Linked DNA regions of Homo sapiens: region 2 is linked to region 1. The links are contacts of gene promoters, found by promoter capture Hi-C in human tissues and cell types (Jung and others, 2019). All regions are on one chromosome and are shown on one strand. Each heading gives the region's core, a stretch centred on a gene start or on the middle of the fragment in contact. The rest is flanking DNA. Distances are from core to core; before and after follow the strand shown.

Evidence for each region. The method cuts DNA at HindIII sites, captures the fragments that hold promoters and counts their contacts. A contact is called where the count stands out against the background at its distance.
Region 2: a contact is called between a fragment that was not itself captured here and the fragment with the promoter of PPIH in region 1, in 1 of the 25 tissues and cell types used here (dorsolateral prefrontal cortex).

Annotation. Positions count from the first base shown.
Region 1 is chr1:42,653,962-42,660,830 of GRCh38, reverse strand. PPIH (peptidylprolyl isomerase H) reads right to left here and starts at 2,408. Exons shown (of 10, transcript NM_006347.4): 1 at 2,319-2,408; 2 at 1,923-1,987; 3 at 1,580-1,603; 4 at 1,265-1,309. The coding sequence starts at 2,384. It overlaps CCDC30 (coiled-coil domain containing 30), which reads right to left. Exons shown (of 21, transcript NM_001395517.1): 21 at 3,641-6,869. The coding sequence ends at 6,803. All of the region lies in intron 1 of LOC124904162 (a long non-coding RNA gene), which reads left to right. The HindIII fragment of the contact is 7,698 bases long and covers 1-6,869 here.
Region 2 is chr1:41,593,630-41,600,498 of GRCh38, reverse strand. All of the region lies in intron 3 of HIVEP3 (HIVEP zinc finger 3), which reads left to right. All of the region lies in intron 1 of LOC128125817, which reads left to right. Among named protein-coding and RNA genes, the nearest start is that of EDN2, 110 kb to the right of the region's middle. The HindIII fragment of the contact is 3,806 bases long and covers 2,444-6,249 here.

The sequences.
Region 1 (6,869 bases), core at 1,159-3,658:
TTTTATGGTTTAGAAAAACATAGATGTTGTTATTATTGTATTAGATTAACGTTGATTTCAAAATACACTATCACTTTGGCTATTATAAAATCATTACTCTTAGCTGGGTGCGGTAGCTCACGCCTGTAATCCCAGCAGTTTGGGAGGCCGAGGCAGGCAGATCACATGAGGCCAGGAGTTTGAGACCAGCCTGGCCAACATGGCAAAACCCCGTCTCTACTAAAAATACAAAAATTAGCCGAGCGTGGTGGCACATGCCTGTAGTCCTGGCTACTCGGGAGGCTGAGGCAGAAGAATTGCTTGAACCCAGGAGGCGGAGGTTGCAGTGAGCCAAGATCATGCCACTGCACTTTAGCCTGGGCGACAGAGTGGGACTCTGTCTCAAAAAAACAAAACAAAACAAAAAAAACCTGAAGATTATTCTTTTCCTGAATGATTAAGCTGAAAGGATAATTAACCATAAAAAAGGATTTTCGTTATAAATTAGGGCATGTTAGAGTTGATCAAGTGCATGATCTGGTACCTGAACAGTAATAAGAAGAAGGGGCTGAAAGCTTACTTGCCAAAGCAAAAGGCAGAGCAAGGGTTTGATGTAAATTTGGGGGAAAGAACTACAGAGAATTTATGTGAAATGTACTGCTAAACATGTAAGGGCTTAACAACTGTTAGCTATTACCCCTAGGGAGGGTCCTTAACCTTTCTTATCCTCAGTTTCCTCCTCTGTAGAATGCAGATCACCCATACCACTTCACAGGAGTCTTACTGGGGATTAGAGACCCAAAGCTCTAAAGCTGTGATATAATTATGTGCTAACATTGTTACTAACCACAGTGAGGCCATGAGAAAGATTCTATATTGAAATGAGACTAAGTGTTGACATACTCCACTCCCCAGGAAATATGATTATCCTTGGACAATCATATATGATCATTTTAGGAATTAGTTATAAATATCAACCAGCAGGATATATTATATGCACTTTAGGATTACAAGTGTACTTTTTAAAAAATCTGCATTCGCACAAACAAGTGCATGAAAAAGACAAGATATTGTAAAGATGAGTAGTTTCTGTTTTAAAGACCTAAGAAGTGGGGGAGTGTAAGTAGAGTTAGAACATTTAATAAATCTTCAGTTGTTGAGTCCACAAAAACATTTCTTCTCAAGAAATGTAAGAATTACCCTCTGGTTTTATTTTCCTCTAAAGAGCCTAATCCCCCAGGAAATATTTCTGAAAGACTCCAGGATGGCTTGCCAAGAGCCTTACCTGTGGAAGGTGCTTCCTTTGTATCCTATTGGAACCCCATCTTTCCTATAACCGAAAAGAAAGAGACTTGGAGTGACAGCAGGTAGCACAAGGCCTTTCCAGTTTACCATGCACTGGAGCCAAAAGGACTCTCCTAAAGATGGTTGACAGACATAAAGAAGGCAAATAAACTAGGGACAGACCCTTGGGGCATTACCTTCTATCACTGTCACCAGCAATCATTCAAGGCCAGCAGGTGGTTCACCGATACCCTCACTGCAGCCCCAGAACACCCCTCTGGAGCAGGCAAAGAAGTCAAACACATCTGAAACTGACCTGAATTCTCCGGTGCAGAACTGCCTGAAAGGGACAAAAAATGAATGATTCAATCACTATGATGTCACAGTCGTGAGCGCCTCTAAATACGGGAAAGAATAAACACTGGAGCCAGCAAGTCCACCAATCGGCCAGCCAGACGTCCAGACACGCAGTCACACAGACTAACAACGTAAATTAACACGGGAACAATCCAAACGGCAACCAGACAGAGCAATGCATGGAGGAATCAGGTCTCAAGAGCAGTGAGCGGACGGACAGAGGTAGACAGGCTATTTCAGGCGGCTGACTGGAGCCCGACTTCTGCCTCAGCTAATCCAGCGGAGCTGGAGCACGTCCTTACCTAAAGTTCTCGGCCGTCTTAGGCACAACGTCTGCAAAGAGCTCGATCTTCATGCGGCCAACTTCCTGCAATCAGCGGGAGAGTGTCAGAAGGCCCAGTCCAAGACCATGAGGGCTTCACGGAGCAGGGGGCATGATGGGCTGACCCACCACCCTGCCGCTCGGTATCTCCCACCTCCGCCTCCCTAGTCTAACCGCCCAGTTCCTCCAGAAGCGGGGCGCTAGGATTGGGGAGACTCCTCCTCCTCCTTTCCCCCCGCCCGGCAGGTCGGTAGGTTCGGGTGCAATTTCACTTTCTGGCTGGCTTCCCGAGTCCGCTCTCTCTGGGTGAGTTCTGCCTGCCTAGCCCCGAGCAGTTTCCCTTCGGCGCAGGTGTGGGCAGCCTCCTGGATCTCACCTGACCGCCAATACTGACATCAAAGAACACCACGGGGTTAACAGGACTTGAATTTGCCACCGCCATGGCTCCGACCCGGAAGCAGAAGTCGGGAGCGTGGGATTCCGGCGAACCTAAAGCCCGGTCCGCGGATTTCGTCCGGGGAGCAGGCGCGGTAGACGTGGAGCGAGACCAGGCTCCGCCCCCGGAAGCTGTCGCCCCGTGCGGTGTGTGCTGAGACTGCTAGGGTCTAGCTGAGAGACTCTGCCTGGCACTGGGGACGCGGGAGTGAGGAGGAGGAAAGCCTTGACATCTTTTTGGTTAAGGTCAATGGTCACCCCACTCACGTGGCTGTACTAAGGGCAGTACAAGTTGATCTTGCTCTAGCTAGGACTTTTGGACTAGGCAGTCGCCAGGGTCCTCCTTATCGGCTCTTGCAGCCAAGCCCTCTGCACCGCCACACGTGCTGTCTGTCTTCTGCCCGCTAGTGTGAACACCGTGAAGGCAGGAACTCTGGTTTGTTCATCCTCAGCGTTTAGAACAGCTTGGCACGTACAGGCTTGCTAAGTAAATATCCCTTCCTCTAAGTCAGGACAATAGATAATGTTTGTTCTGCCACAAAAGCTACCAGTTTTGTCATTTCCAATTCATTTCCCATAAAGCAACTAGAGTTTTTTATTTTTTATTTTTAAAATAACTCTTGTGCTTCCTATTTATTTTAAAAATAACTCCTGGCTTCCCATATTTAGAATAAAATCCAATTCCGTGCATACGAAGCCCTACAGTGCATTTATCTGGCTATCACGTACCTGACCTCATCTTGTACCACTTGCCCTTAGTTACTGTGCTCTGACCTGTCTGTTCCTCCAGGTCACTGAGATCCCTCCTCTCTTTAGGGCTTTGTAATAGCTGTTACTTCTGTCTGAAATATTCCTTCCAGAACTTAATGTGGGTTGGCGGGGGATTGTGGGGGTTGGTTGGGGTATGCGTGTGGGAAGTAATGCTCCTTGTAGTTCAGGGCTCACCCCAGATGTTACCTCCTGAGAGGCAACATTAGACCTAATCTAAAGTAGCCCTTGGTCATTCAGATCACTGGTTTGTTTTCTTCATGCCACCCCCACTTCCACATTATCTTCGTATGGTATGTGTCTACACCTCATTTCCTGCCACACACACATAATCTTCCTCCCTGATAGCATATAAACTCCATGAAAGTAGAGACTCTCCTGGTCCTATTCGCAGCTGTAGCTGCAATGTCGCCTACTGAATAGCATATAGTAGGTATTCAATAAATAATAGATGCAATGAATTTAGTGAAAGAAGGGGACCTTGGGCAAGGCTCATTCAATATAACAGCATGCATTTAATAAAATAGTTATTATTTCCTAGTTCCTATGATCATCTTTCTAGCTCTGTTGTCTGAGAAAGCAAGGATTACATATAAAAATACAGTGTGTCTCAATGTAAAGGGTCATTTTTATTTCTGGTTACTGATCCTCTCCTCTTGGTCTCCTCCAACTGAAAAAGAAGAAAGGGGAGGAGGGGGAAAAGGAACAGCAGCAGTCACGCTTCAGTATAATTTTATACCAACTGTTTTAGAATAAATCTTTAAAATTGATAATATCCAATGTTGATGAGGTTGTGAAAAAAATAGTACATTGATAAACCTCTAGTGAAAATAAATGATGATAGCATTTATTAAGCAGTTACTACGTGCTAAATACTTTACATGCTTCATTTCATTTGGTCCTCACAACCCTATGGGATAGAGAACTATTATTGTTCCCATTTTAGGAATCAAGAAATTGAGGCTCAAGGAGGTTGAGTAACTTGACTATGAAAACAGTATGTTGACACACTTTTTATTTATTTTATTATTTATGTATTTATTATTATTATTTTTTGAGACAGAGTCTCACTTTTTGCCCAGGCTGGAGTACAGTGGAGTGGTCTCAGCTCACTGAAACTTCTACCTCTTGGGTTCAGGTGATTCTCGAGCCTCAGCCTCCCGCATAGCAGGGACTACAGGTGTGCACCACCATACCCGGCTAATTTTTGTATTTTTAGTAGAGACAGGGCTTTGCCATGTTGGCCTGGCTGGTCTTGAACTCCTGGCCTCAAGTGATCCACCTGCCTCGGCCTCCCAAAATGCTGGGATTATAGGCGTGAGCCACCGCACCTGGTCAGGCAGAACCCTTTTTTAAAGCAAAGGAAGTGATGTCCTAGAGCAATATTAACATTTATATCCTTTGACTCAGTCCAATCTTGCGAATTTGTTTTCTGGAGTAATTCAAAAGAAGAAAAGAACTACATGCACAAAGACCTTCAACACAGCATAATCTTAAATAGTAACAAAGTAAAACCAGGCCTGGCATAGAGGCTCATCCTATAATCCTATCACCTAGGAGGCTTAGGTGGGAGGATCACTTGAGCCCAGAAATTTGAGACCAGCTTGAACAATAGAGTGAGAGTGAGACCTCGTCTTTACAAAAAGTACAAAAATGAGCCAGGCATGGTAGCACATGCCTGTACTTGGGAGAGGCTGAGGAGAGAGGATCACTTAAGCATGGGAGGTTGAGGCTGCATGAGCAGTAATCAAACCACTGCACTCCAGCCTGGGTTACAAAGTGAGACCCTGTCTCAAAAAAAAAAAAAAAAAAAAAAAAGTAAAAACAGCTTAAATGCCAAACAAGAGAACGTTTAATTTATAGAACATCCACATCCTCAGAGATACTGAGCAGTACTGTTCCACCCTGATAGATGAAATGGATGTGAATGTTGCTGATCTTTTCTGAAGAAGCAGTCCCACTACACTAAAGATGAGCTGGAGACTGTTCACCTACTTTGTACTCCTGTTTGGAAATATTTAGGGGTAGTTTCTGTGTAATGGGGTTTATGTGAACTCTCTTCTCATACCCCCTCCCCCAGGAAAAGCTCTTGGTATTTTCCTATCCACTTTTATTTTATTTTATTTTATTTATTTTTTCGAGATGGAGTCTTGCTCTGTCACCCAGGCTGGAGTGCACTGGTGCAGTCTCGGCTCACTGCAACCTCTGCCTCTCGGGTTCAAGTGATTCTCCTGCCTCAGCCTCCCCAGTAGCTGGGACTACAGGCGCGCGCACTACCACACCTGGCTAATTGTTTTTGTATTTTTGTTAGAGACGGGGTTTCCCTAAGTTGGCCAAGCTGGTCTCGAACTCCTGACCTCAGGTGATCTGCCCACCTCGGCCTCCCAAAGTGCTGGGATCACAGGTGTAAGCCACCACGCCCAACCTCCTATCCACTTTTAAATAATGTATTGCTCTAAATCTTCTTCATTAAACATTTAAAACTTTTCCCATAAAAATAATTATAGAACATCAACATGATTGAATATCATATGGCGATTGAAAATGTTTCCATGGTATATACAGTAAATTAAAAATCAAACTGTGAAAATGAATATACAATATTATAATAACCACTTAGAATATATGTACTTGAATTAGGACCAAAAGGGAATAACTGTAAAATAAAATTAGTTGTGTTAAGACTGTGGTATTGGTGTAATCCCAGCACTTTGGGAGGCTGAGGTGGGTGGATCACCTGAGGTCAGGAGTTCAAGACCAGCATGGCCAACATGGTGAAACCTTGTCTCTACTAAAAATACAAAAATTAGCTGGGCATGGTGGCGGGCACCTATAATCCCAGCTACTTGGGAGGCTGAGGCAGGAGAATTGGTTGAACCTGGGAGGCAGAGGTTGCAGTGAGCGGAGATCATGCCACTGCACTTCAGCCTGGGTGACAGAGTAAGAGACTCCGTCTCAAAAAAAAAAAAAAAAGCTTATGGTATTATAGGAGGGTTTTTGTTTTTGTTTTTTGCTTTTTTTGAGACGGAGTCTCACTCTGTCACCCAGGCTGGAGTGCAGTGGTGCTATCGCAGGTTCACGCCATTCTCCTGCCTCAGCCTTCTGAGTAGCTGGGACTACAGGCACCCGCCACCACACTCGGTTAATTTTTTTGTATTTTTAGTAGAGACAGGGTTTCACCGTGTTAGCCAGGATGGTCTCGATCTCCTGACCTCGTGATCCACCCACCTCAGCCTCCCAAAGTGCTGGGATTATAGGCGTGAGCCACCACGCCCAGCATAGGAGGGTTTTTTTAAAAACAAAATTTGCTTTAATGTGACTGTATTGTTTTTACTGTTAAAAAATAAATCAGAAAAGATACCCATGATAATGGGAAAGAATGTTGAATTAACCCTACATGTGCTCTGCTGAAGAGAAACCTAAATAAATCATTGAACTAAAGTCAATATTTTGGTCAATACAAGGCATCTGAGGATATCAAACAAACTTGAGAAATCCATTTTTACAACTGCTTTAATGAATTTATCAGCAGTTTTGAAGACTCTTGGGTGATATCCATTTGGGATCTGTGGTAACTCTTCTCAATGTCATGGTCCACCTTTTGTCCAGGCTTTAAATTACCACTTTTGTTCAGTATAGCTTTAGGCACCAGTGATTTTATAGTTCTGACTTTTGGTCTTGTTCTTGTATACCATGTGTCTCCTTCAGAGAAGCCACATTTATG
Region 2 (6,869 bases), core at 3,097-5,596, 1.1 Mb after region 1:
AAGTACTTCATATAAGTGAAATTATGCAGTATTTGTTCATTTGTGGCTGGCTTATCTTACTTAGCATAATGTCATCAAGTTTCATACACACAATGGAATATTATTCCGTCTTAAAGAAGGAAATTCTGACACATGCTACAACATGAATGAATTTTTTATCCATTCATTCATCAATGGACATTTGGATTGCTTCCACCTTTGGCTGTTGTAAATCATGCCGCTATGAACATAGATGTACACATATCTCTTTGAGACTCTGATTTCAATTCTTTTGAGTATATACCCAGAAGGGGAATTGCTGGATTAGATGGTAATTCTATTTTTTATTTTTTGAGGAACTACCACAGTGTTTTCCATAGAGGCTGCACCGTTTTACATTCCTACCAGCAGAGTGCAACAGTTCCACTCACTTTCTCTACATCCTTGCAAATACTTCTTTTTCTTTTTTTTGTTGTAGCCATTTTAATGTGTGTGAGGTGGTATCTTCGTGGTTTTGATTTTTCATTTCCCTAGTAATTGGTAATGGTGAGCATCTTTTCACGTGCTTCTTGGCCATTTGTAGATCTTCTTTGGAGAAACGTCTCTTCAAGTCCTTTGCTCATTTTTTTAAAAATCGTTTTGCTTGGCTTTTTGTTGTTGAGTTTTGGAGTTCTGCATGTTAATCCCTTATCAGATATATGATTTGCAAGCGTTTTCTCTCATTCTTGTCTTTTTACTCTGTTGATGTTGTCCTTTCACGCATAGAAGATTTTAAATTTTGATGTAGGCAATTTATCTATTTGTACTTTTGTTGTGTATGCTTTTGGTGCCACATCTAAGAAGTTACTGCCAAATCCAATGTGATGAAGCTTCTTCCTTATGTTTTCTAAGAGTTCTATAGTTTTATCTCTGAGTTTAGGTCTTTGATTCATTTTGAGTTAACTTTTGCCATTTTCAGGTGCGTTGACTGCCTTTTTCTTACTCATTTTTAGGAATTTGTTTTCAAACATGTGTTGCAAATATCCTCTCCCAACCCATGGTTTGTCTTTCTACTCTATTATTAGAGTCTTTGTTGAACAGAAGTTTTAAATTTTAATGAAGCACAATTTAGCTTCTCTCCTTTATGATTATGTGATTACGCGTTTGTCAATCGAGTAAGAAATCTTTGCCTACCCCAAGTTCCGTGAAGATATTTTCTTGTTTTCTTCTACAAGCTTTATTGTTTAATCTTTTGTATTCAGGCCTATCATTTATTCATTTCACATTCGTTTTCTGTGTATGGTATGATATCGGGGGTCAAGGTTCATTTTTTAATATGGATATCCAATAGCTTTAGCGCCATTTATTGAAAAGACCATTACTTTCTCTATCAGATGCATTTTTCTTGTAAATCAGGTGACTGAGACTGGGTGTGGTGGCTCACACTTGTAATTCTAACACTTTGGGAGGCCAAGGTGGGTGGATCACTTGAGCCCAGGAGTTCAAGACCAGCTTGGCCAACATGGTGAAACCCCATCTCTAAAAAAAGATATAAAAATTAGCCGAGCATGGTGGCACGTGTCTGTAGTCCCAGCTGCTTGGGAGGCTGAGGTGGGAGAATCACCTGAGCCCAGGAGGTGGAGGTTGCAGTGAGCTGAAATTGTGCCATTACACTCCAGTTTGGGCAACAGAATGAGATCCTGTCCCTAAATAAATAAATAAATAAATAAATAACATCATGTGACTGTATGTGTGGGAGTATGTTTCCTTACCCTACTCTGTTTCCATTGATCTTCTTGTGTCTCTTTGTATCGATACTATACTGTCTTGATTACTGTAGCTTATAGTAAGGCCTATGATTTATGTCTGTTTTCATCTTACTGGCCTGGCATTGAGAAGGCCCACGTAGTACTTGCAGACTGAGTGGAGAAATGAAGAAATGAGTTGCAGTAGAGTGATCGTTATAACTGCTTTATCATTACTATACAGTTATATCTATCCTGCCATGTGGGCAAGAATGACAGAAGCCACAGGCAGTCGCCACCTCTTCTGTTGGACTACACTCTGTATGTCACCCAGTCTCCCAGTCATTTTTTCTTCTGTGGTTCATCTTATAGTGTGTGTGTGTATATATTATTGTGTATTCTATGTATTGCTCTCCATAGTAGACACAAGAACCTTAACTACCTAGGAAGCTTGTAGGTAGGTGTGCCTTTTGTGCCACAGTCACGTGTATAGAAACAAAATGCCATCAAAGGAACCACTAGAGACCTGCCAGAAACTGACAAGAGATCAGGCCACTGCAGCAAATGTGGAATTTGGGTCTCTCTTAGGCGGTGTTGATGAGAGACTGGCTGGACACAAATGGCCAGAAGACAAGCCTGCTGGGCCTGCGCAACTCTCATTTCAGGCTTTGTTCTTCCCTAAGCTCTTTCACCCACAAGCACTTCCTGGACCATTTAAGATAAACAGGTTGAGTTAAGTTCATAGATGCCCACTGAGTTCTCATGGGTGTCCAGATGCCTCTTTTAATCCTCATGGGAAAAATCGGATATAAATAAACAATGAGATAGGTAGGTGGATAGCTAGCTATGTACATTACATTAGATAACTTAGTAGGTGAATTAGCTACAAGCATCTGGGCCTTGTTTGTAGATGTGTGTAGGTGAGGTAAGGCTGTAGCAGCTAATGTCAGTTCATTTTTGGTCTCAATGGAAGCAAGGCTTAAACACTGTCGATACTTTTCCAGGAGAAAGGTAAAAAAAGGTTAACAAGCTTAGCCCTTATGAAGGAAAGGAAGGCTGCTAAAAACAGTGTTTGGTTACCTGCAGTGTCAGGACTGTGATTCAAATCTGTGTCCTCTCTGTGAGGCTGGTGTGGCCTGGCTGCCTTGAGGGTCACCACTGCAGGAGTCACCTGATGGTCCAAGTTCAGGTTCTGTCTCTGCTACTTATCAGTTTTGTGATTTTGGGCCTCAGTTTCCTCACCTGTAAAATGGGAATGATAATAGTACCCGCCTGAAGGGTCATTGTGAGGAATAAATGAGTGAATTTGCGTAACATACTAAGAACAGCCCTGGCACATAGTCAGAGTTCATTTGCTCCGTCTAGGCACAGGACATTGGTTTAGATGATCTTCCTCTGAATTATTATGCCCACAGACAATCAGGGGAAATCTGGGCCTCTGCAAGTCTGGCAGAGTAGAGTTTTTGCTACATCATTGCTTGATCTTGACTGTGAAATGTGTTTTTGCTTTCTATGGGGATGTCACAGGAGACTTCATTCTCCTTGGTGATATCAGTTTCACCTGGATCCCTGAGCTCTCTAACAGGAAGACAAATACCAGCCGGGTCTAACTCGTCTAGGATTGCCTAGGCTTCTGTTTGCTTTCGATAGAATTTGCTTTTTGACCAGTGTGCAGAAATTCCAAGCCCTGTTTAGGTCTTGGAGTTGGGAGGGAGGAGGAGAAGGAAAAGTAGGAACACAGAGACCAGTCATCCAAGGGAAATGATTTAAGAGCCTCCCAGACAGTGAAAAATCCACCATTCATTATTGAGGGAAAAAGCAGTTAACAAGAAACTCAGCCCTAAGGTTAACATGGTCATGCAGAGTGACTTGCATGCAGGGAGGACTTTGATGCAAGTGTATGTAGGTGGCTGCAGTTAACCAGGGAAGACTTCCTGGAGGATCTCAGATACAGGGAAGGAAGGTAGGATCCACTCGGTCATTCTGACCAAGATCAGGGCCCTTGGGGGTTTCCTGGATGTTGGCCAGCACTCAGGGTTCAAATCCTGCCTTTGCCTTTTTGTGTCTGATCTGAAGCAATTAGCCTCAGCCCTGCCCCCATCTATAAAAAGGGGATGTGTAAGAATCAATATGTTTGTTTTGTTTGGGCATGGTAGGTGGTCAGTTAAGTGTTTTTAAATATTTTTAATATTTTACTGAGTGTGGAGTTCTGTATCAGGCACTGGAAATGCAAATCTGAATGGAGCCTAGTTCCTGCCCAGGCCAGGGGGAGGCAGGTTCACCTGGAAGACACTGATGAACTGGTTAAGCCACAGGCCTGGCTCAAGGCAGACATCCCAGGCTTCTTGGGGGAACAGCACTGTTTGACCCATTGGATTAGCAAAAAACCTCTTCCTTCCAACACAGGCTATCTATGGACTCTAGGTTGTGCCTGTTTTCCATGAATGAATCCAGGTCAGAGGGTATGAGGGGCTGGTCACCCTGGAAGCATGGCCCAGCCCAGCAGCAGCAGTGCGCCCTTGCCCACCCCATGGGGACCCAGTTGTGCCTTCCACCTGCTTTCAGAGGGCAGTCACTGACCACAGCTCTGTTAGAAGATCTGCTTGACATAATGAGGCTTCACAGTTTGGGACTTTATCTCGTCATTCTGGGGCCTAGGAGGGGACGTGTGGAAACACCTCCCAGTGTCCAGAAGCCATCCCAGCACATCGTGGGGCTCCTGCCTGGAGCCCTGAAACATTTCCTGTGGCCACATTCCAGCCCCCTGTGCTTTGCGTACATTGAACCTTGTATTAGTCAGGGTTCTCTAGAGGGACAGAACTACTAGGATAGATGTATACATAAAGGGGAGTTTATTGAGGAGTATTGACTCACACAATCACAAGGTGAGGTCCCACAATAGGCCGTCTGCAAGCAAGGAAGCCAGTCTGAGTCCCAAAGCTGAAGAACTTGGCGTCCAATGTTTGAGGGCAGGAAGCATCCAGTGCAGGAGAAAGATGTAGGCCAGGAGGCTAAGCCAGTCTAGTCTTTTCATGTTCTTCTACCTGCTTTTATCCTGGACACACTGGCAGCTGATTAGATGGTGCCCACCCAGATTGAGGGTGGGTCTGCCTTTCCCAGTCCACTGACTCAAATGTTAATCTCCTTTGGCAACACCCTCTTCATCCTTCAATCCAATCAAGTTGACATTCGATATTAATCATCACAAGCCTCCCACCTAGAGTCTCTTTCTTGCAAATCTCACCATCAACATCTTCCCATAGTTCAAAACCCAGCTCAAACAAGGGTATGCTGACTCCTCTGTGGAATTAGTCTCCAGACTCCTTTCTCGGCATGTCCCACCAGGAACAACAATGTGTAAAGGCAGAGAGTTCAAAGTGTAAGAGCAGGATGGAGAGAGAGGAGGCCAGGAAGACTGGGTGGGCCCTATTTTGACAGGACTGAAACGCCAATGGCTGAATCTCTCTGCATTGGGGAGCTACTGAGAATTACTGACAAGGGGAGAGGTCTGGTGAGCTTGGCAACTGAAGAGATTTCTCTTTCCACAATGAATAGTGGAGTGGGGTGGACTGGGAGAAGGCTAGAAACCTGGAAGCAAGGTGATTAGGAGGCAGTTGGAGGAATTTCATCAGCTTCCCCAAATGCCAGTAGAAAAGTATATGCCAGATTTACAATATTCACATGGGGAATTAGCAAAAATATAGATTCTGGGTCCCTTTCCCACAAATTCTATTTCAGTGGATTTGGAATAGGGCTAGAACCTGTGCTTTTATCAGACACCACAGACATTTCAGAGGTGGGGAGGTGGACTATTCAATAATGCTGTTGGGACAACTGGCTAGCTAGGGAGTAAAAAAACTTAAGCTTTATCTTTACCTCACTCCTTACACACAAATAAGTGCCAGATGGAGCCAAGGTGACAATGGAAAGGAAAGAAGAGAGGAAAGGAGGGAAAAAATAAATCATAATGGAACTAGAAGAAAATTTGGGTGACATTCTAAAAAGTAATATTGGATGTGAAACCTAAAAGTCATAAAGGGAAAAATTAATGGTACATTTAACCACATGGAAACAAAAAAAAATTCTGTACAGCTAAGACTAATGATAAAGAGAAGATATCTGCAACCTATATGTAAAGGATCAATAGCTTCAATATCAAAAGAGTTTATGTAAACCAGAAAAATAGTCTCCCAAATGAAATAACTGAATATGTTTATGCAAAAATGCTAAGCCTCTCTAGAGATCAAGAAACAGGTTTTAAAACATAAGATATCGGCCAGGCGGGGTGGCTCACACCTGTAATCCCAGCACTTCGGGAGGCTGAGGCAGGGGATCACTTGAGGTCAGGAGTTCAAGACCAGTCTGGCCGCCATGGTGAAACCCCATCTCTACTAAAAATACGAAAATTATCTGGGTGTGGTGGTGCACGCCTGTAATCCCAGCTACTCAGGAGGCTGAGGCAGGAGAATTGCATGAACCCAGGAGGCAGAGGTTGGAATGAGCTGAGATCAAGTCACTGCACTCCATCCTGGGCAACAGAGCGAGACTCCATTTCAAAAAATAATAATAAAATAATTATAACTGAAACGTAAGATATCTTTGTGGTAGGCAAAATAATGGACCCCCAAACTATCCACATTCTAAACCCTGGAAACTGAATATGTTGCCCATTATGGCAAAAGATAATTTGTAGATGTGATTTAATTAAGGATCTTGAGGTGGAGAGATTATCCAGGTGGACTCAATGTAATCACAAGAGTCCTTAGGAGAGGGAGAGAGGAGTCAATATTAGAATGATTTGTTATGAGAAAGATGCGGCTGGCTGTTACCAGCTTTGCAGGTGGAAGGGGAGCCTTCCATGAGCCAAGGAATTCAGGTACCCTCTAGAAGTTGGGAAAGGCAAGGAAAGGGATTCTCCTCTAGGGCCCCCAGAAAGAAAAGTGGCCCTGCTGACACCTTGCTTTTAGCCGAGTGAGACCTATTTCAGACGTCTGACCACTCGAACTATAAGATAGTAAATTTTGCATTAAGCCACTAAATTTGTGGTAATTTCTTACAGCAGCAATGGGAACCAAATACAACCATTTTGCCTTTCTTATTAGCTAATGTTAAAGAGACAGTTTATATTCCAGATAGGCAGGAGGTTAGGGAAATAGTGCTCACCCG